Regions from separate parts of the Homo sapiens genome. Here region 1 is linked to region 2. The links are contacts of gene promoters, found by promoter capture Hi-C in human tissues and cell types (Jung and others, 2019). All regions are on one chromosome and are shown on one strand. Each heading gives the region's core, a stretch centred on a gene start or on the middle of the fragment in contact. The rest is flanking DNA. Distances are from core to core; before and after follow the strand shown.

Region 1 (2,766 bases), core at 186-2,685, 310 kb before region 2:
CAAGGACTTGATGGGTTCTTCTTCCTTCAGAGCAATCCCAGTGGGAAGAAGGAGGGGACGGGAGGCCTGGCAAACGCTCTTCCCCAGCTCCGTTCCAAGCTCTGTGGGGCTCCGGCAGGCCCCATGTCATGTGCAGATGAGGGATTAGGGTTCCGCCCGGCCTCGCTGCTCTCAGGCCCTCATGGGCTCCTCTCCCCACCCCCGTGCAGCCAGCGGACCCTGCCCCCCACCCAGCTGCTCCCCCCTAGCTGCTCCCCCCCAGCTGCTCCCCCCAGCTGCTCCAACTCAGCTGCTCACACCCAGCTGCTCCCCCTCAGCTGCTCCCACCCAGCTACTCCCCCCAGCTGCTCCCCCCTAGCTGCTCCCACCCAGCTGCTCCCACCCAGCTGCTCCCCCCTAGCTGCTCCCACCCAGCTGCTCCCCCCAGCTGCTCCCCCTCAGCTGCTCCCCCCCAGCTACTCCCCCCAGCTGCTCCCACCCAGCTGCTCCCACCCAGCTGTTCCCACCCAGCTGCTCCCACCCAGCTGCTCCCCCCAGCTGTTCTCCCCCAGCTGCTCCCCCCCAGCTGCTCCCACCCAGCTGTTCTCAGGTTTCTCATCCTTCCTGGATGACGCCCTACCTGGGGCACCCGTTCCTGTGGCATCCCCAGTCCTGCACTGCAGCACTCACCCTGTCACCTCCATGGCGAGACCATCTTGGAACCATGATCAGCCCATCGGGTTTCATCCATTATCCTCCTAGCCCATTTTCTGTGCTGATTTCTCATTCCCAAAACATCTTGGAATTACAAGAAATTAACTTTTTTCAAGGTCTCTGTGCTTCTGAAGTAGGTTTGCCTTAATATAACATTGATGTATTTTTAAGGGGCATTTTTAAAGCTGTACTTTAAGAAATAATTTTTATATTCTTTTGAAGGTTTTTTTTTTCTTTAAGATGGAGTCTCACTCTGTCGCCCAGGCTGGAGTGCAATGGCGCAATCTTGGCTCACTGCAACCTCCACCTCCCGGGTTCAAGCAATTCTCCTCCCTCAGCCTCCTGAGTAGCTGGGATTACAGGCATGCACCCCACACCTGGCTAATTTTGTATTTTCAGTAGATACGGGGTTTCACCATGTTGGTCAAGCTGGTCTCAACTCCTGACCTCATGATCCACCCACCTTGGTCTCCCAAAGTGCTGGGATTACAGGCGTGAGCCCCTGCGCCCGGCCGGTATTTTTTTTTTAATCAAATACAGTTGAGGCTCTCTTGGAGATCCCATATTAAAGAGAACTGAGAAAAATCAGACCTCAGAAGCAGGACAGTGCCCTGTGAAGTACATGTCCATTCCCATCACTGTCCTTCTCTCACATGGGCCCAGGGATGTGGGTGATGGTATTTGTTGCCCCTGGTGATGGAGCAGATTTGATCTGCCTATGTGGGAAGGGTTTAACTCAGCGGGTGTGGATTGCTCAAACCCTGCACGTTCCCAGGAGGGGCCCTTGGCTGGCTCCTGGGAGCTGAGCTCCTGCAGTGTTCTGACTGATGAGAGAGACTGGAGCCATGTTGCACTACTTTGCCTGGGTAGTTGACCAACAAGGTGATGGATGGCAAACACCTGCTTTCGCTGTGGGTGGCTGGAACTTCCCTGACTGACCCCCAGGTTCAGGAGAGCCTCCCTGGTCCGCACCACGGCACTAGCTGTCCCAGCTTCTTGCTGGAGGAATCCGGTGCACCCTGTGTGACTCCGCTGGGAGGGACTCTGGAAGCGCCTGGCTTCCCTGGCAGCCCTTTCCCTTGGCTGGTTTACTCTGTACCCTTTCAAGTTGGAGGGTGGTCTCAGGGACCCCCATGCAGTCTTTCGTGCTTTCACCAAAAACTCACCTTGGCAGGGCTTCAGGGGAAGGCTTGGGATTTGGTGACAAGTGACTCCATGGCCTTGGGCAAAGCACAGCATCTACTTAGGTTTTCAGGCGGTTGCCCAGGTATGTCTAGCACCTAATGTAACCGAGGCGTGAAATGCCTGTGCGCCATGGTGCTTCAGCTCGTTATGGGCCGTTAGGCCTTGTGGTGGTTCTCTCTTGGTTTCTGTGGAGAAGCCAGACCCCGCTGTGGTTGGCAAGGAAGGCGAGTGGAGACATCAGGAGTGTCCATCCCTCAGCGGCCCTTTCTGGTGGGGTGGCTGCCTCTCTCTCATCCTTGATTAATCCCGGGACAACCTCTGCTCTCCTGGGCAATCCTTAGAATACTCCGGAAGACCCCAGTATGGCCGTCCGGTTCCTCCTGGGCCCCAGCTCTCAGGAATGCACCATCTGGGCACACTCCATGCGTGCCCGTCCAGATGGCACCTGAGCTTCCCTGTGCCTGTGCTGTGGCATTAACATCTCGCTTGTGTTTTAACCTGTGTTGCTTTGGTTTAAAACTTGTTTGACCGTGTTATTTGCTGAGATGGCCCAGAGAAGCTTCTACTTATGATCAGGACACGTCACAGTGCAGCCTTCACTTGAGGACTTAGGTCTCATCCAGCTCCACACAGTCAGTCCAGGGCCACGGACGCAGAAGACAGAGGAGAAGAAGCTCATGGCATAAAGACAGAGGATTGATTGCCCAGGAGGCTTCCAGGGGCTTTGGCTCCTGGGGCTTCTTGTCAGCGCTGGGTCAGAGCAGGTCACCCTTGTGTGCAGACACTAGGTTGCTGCACACAGCGGTGAAGAATGGGGGAGACCAGATGGAATTGGGTGAGGCAGGGATGCTCCTTGGTGTTTAGAGTTTTCCTCTTTCTTTGCCTTGT
Region 2 (2,700 bases), core at 201-2,700:
GCAGAGAACCAGTGTAAGCTACAACTTAACTTTTGTTGGAACAAATTTTCCAAACCGCCCCTTTGCCCTAGTGGCAGAGACAATTCACAAACACAGCCCTTTAAAAAGGCTTAGGGATCACTAAGGGGATTTCTAGAAGAGCGACCTGTAATCCTAAGTATTTACAAGACGAGGCTAACCTCCAGCGAGCGTGACAGCCCAGGGAGGGTGCGAGGCCTGTTCAAATGCTAGCTCCATAAATAAAGCAATTTCCTCCGGCAGTTTCTGAAAGTAGGAAAGGTTACATTTAAGGTTGCGTTTGTTAGCATTTCAGTGTTTGCCGACCTCAGCTACAGCATCCCTGCAAGGCCTCGGGAGACCCAGAAGTTTCTCGCCCCTTAGATCCAAACTTGAGCAACCCGGAGTCTGGATTCCTGGGAAGTCCTCAGCTGTCCTGCGGTTGTGCCGGGGCCCCAGGTCTGGAGGGGACCAGTGGCCGTGTGGCTTCTACTGCTGGGCTGGAAGTCGGGCCTCCTAGCTCTGCAGTCCGAGGCTTGGAGCCAGGTGCCTGGACCCCGAGGTTGCCCTCCACCCTGTGCGGGCGGGATGTGACCAGATGTTGGCCTCATCTGCCAGACAGAGTGCCGGGGCCCAGGGTCAAGGCCGTTGTGGCTGGTGTGAGGCGCCCGGTGCGCGGCCAGCAGGAGCGCCTGGCTCCATTTCCCACCCTTTCTCGACGGGACCGCCCCGGTGGGTGATTAACAGATTTGGGGTGGTTTGCTCATGGTGGGGACCCCTCGCCGCCTGAGAACCTGCAAAGAGAAATGACGGGCCTGTGTCAAGGAGCCCAAGTCGCGGGGAAGTGTTGCAGGGAGGCACTCCGGGAGGTCCCGCGTGCCCGTCCAGGGAGCAATGCGTCCTCGGGTTCGTCCCCAGCCGCGTCTACGCGCCTCCGTCCTCCCCTTCACGTCCGGCATTCGTGGTGCCCGGAGCCCGACGCCCCGCGTCCGGACCTGGAGGCAGCCCTGGGTCTCCGGATCAGGCCAGCGGCCAAAGGGTCGCCGCACGCACCTGTTCCCAGGGCCTCCACATCATGGCCCCTCCCTCGGGTTACCCCACAGCCTAGGCCGATTCGACCTCTCTCCGCTGGGGCCCTCGCTGGCGTCCCTGCACCCTGGGAGCGCGAGCGGCGCGCGGGCGGGGAAGCGCGGCCCAGACCCCCGGGTCCGCCCGGAGCAGCTGCGCTGTCGGGGCCAGGCCGGGCTCCCAGTGGATTCGCGGGCACAGACGCCCAGGACCGCGCTTCCCACGTGGCGGAGGGACTGGGGACCCGGGCACCCGTCCTGCCCCTTCACCTTCCAGCTCCGCCTCCTCCGCGCGGACCCCGCCCCGTCCCGACCCCTCCCGGGTCCCCGGCCCAGCCCCCTCCGGGCCCTCCCAGCCCCTCCCCTTCCTTTCCGCGGCCCCGCCCTCTCCTCGCGGCGCGAGTTTCAGGCAGCGCTGCGTCCTGCTGCGCACGTGGGAAGCCCTGGCCCCGGCCACCCCCGCGATGCCGCGCGCTCCCCGCTGCCGAGCCGTGCGCTCCCTGCTGCGCAGCCACTACCGCGAGGTGCTGCCGCTGGCCACGTTCGTGCGGCGCCTGGGGCCCCAGGGCTGGCGGCTGGTGCAGCGCGGGGACCCGGCGGCTTTCCGCGCGCTGGTGGCCCAGTGCCTGGTGTGCGTGCCCTGGGACGCACGGCCGCCCCCCGCCGCCCCCTCCTTCCGCCAGGTGGGCCTCCCCGGGGTCGGCGTCCGGCTGGGGTTGAGGGCGGCCGGGGGGAACCAGCGACATGCGGAGAGCAGCGCAGGCGACTCAGGGCGCTTCCCCCGCAGGTGTCCTGCCTGAAGGAGCTGGTGGCCCGAGTGCTGCAGAGGCTGTGCGAGCGCGGCGCGAAGAACGTGCTGGCCTTCGGCTTCGCGCTGCTGGACGGGGCCCGCGGGGGCCCCCCCGAGGCCTTCACCACCAGCGTGCGCAGCTACCTGCCCAACACGGTGACCGACGCACTGCGGGGGAGCGGGGCGTGGGGGCTGCTGCTGCGCCGCGTGGGCGACGACGTGCTGGTTCACCTGCTGGCACGCTGCGCGCTCTTTGTGCTGGTGGCTCCCAGCTGCGCCTACCAGGTGTGCGGGCCGCCGCTGTACCAGCTCGGCGCTGCCACTCAGGCCCGGCCCCCGCCACACGCTAGTGGACCCCGAAGGCGTCTGGGATGCGAACGGGCCTGGAACCATAGCGTCAGGGAGGCCGGGGTCCCCCTGGGCCTGCCAGCCCCGGGTGCGAGGAGGCGCGGGGGCAGTGCCAGCCGAAGTCTGCCGTTGCCCAAGAGGCCCAGGCGTGGCGCTGCCCCTGAGCCGGAGCGGACGCCCGTTGGGCAGGGGTCCTGGGCCCACCCGGGCAGGACGCGTGGACCGAGTGACCGTGGTTTCTGTGTGGTGTCACCTGCCAGACCCGCCGAAGAAGCCACCTCTTTGGAGGGTGCGCTCTCTGGCACGCGCCACTCCCACCCATCCGTGGGCCGCCAGCACCACGCGGGCCCCCCATCCACATCGCGGCCACCACGTCCCTGGGACACGCCTTGTCCCCCGGTGTACGCCGAGACCAAGCACTTCCTCTACTCCTCAGGCGACAAGGAGCAGCTGCGGCCCTCCTTCCTACTCAGCTCTCTGAGGCCCAGCCTGACTGGC

Evidence for each region. Contacts are between HindIII fragments. The study calls those that stand out against the background at their distance.
Region 1: a contact is called between a fragment that was not itself captured here and the fragment with the promoter of TERT in region 2, in 2 of the 25 tissues and cell types used here (heart left ventricle and spleen).

What each region holds. Positions count from the first base shown.
Region 1 is chr5:1,604,523-1,607,288 of GRCh38, reverse strand. It overlaps the pseudogene PDCD6P1. Among named protein-coding and RNA genes, the nearest start is that of LPCAT1, 82 kb to the right of the region's middle. The HindIII fragment of the contact is 7,274 bases long and covers 1-2,766 here.
Region 2 is chr5:1,293,818-1,296,517 of GRCh38, reverse strand. It overlaps TERT (telomerase reverse transcriptase), which reads left to right and starts at 1,450. Exons shown (of 16, transcript NM_198253.3): 1 at 1,450-1,747; 2 at 1,852-2,700. The coding sequence starts at 1,529. RefSeq lists silencers at 1,104-1,193, 1,294-1,363, cis regulatory regions at 1,396-1,404, 1,416-1,424, 1,494-1,526, 1,529-1,885, enhancers at 773-1,489, 1,460-1,502 and promoters at 1,199-1,890, 1-1,890. The HindIII fragment of the contact is 7,642 bases long and covers 1-2,189 here.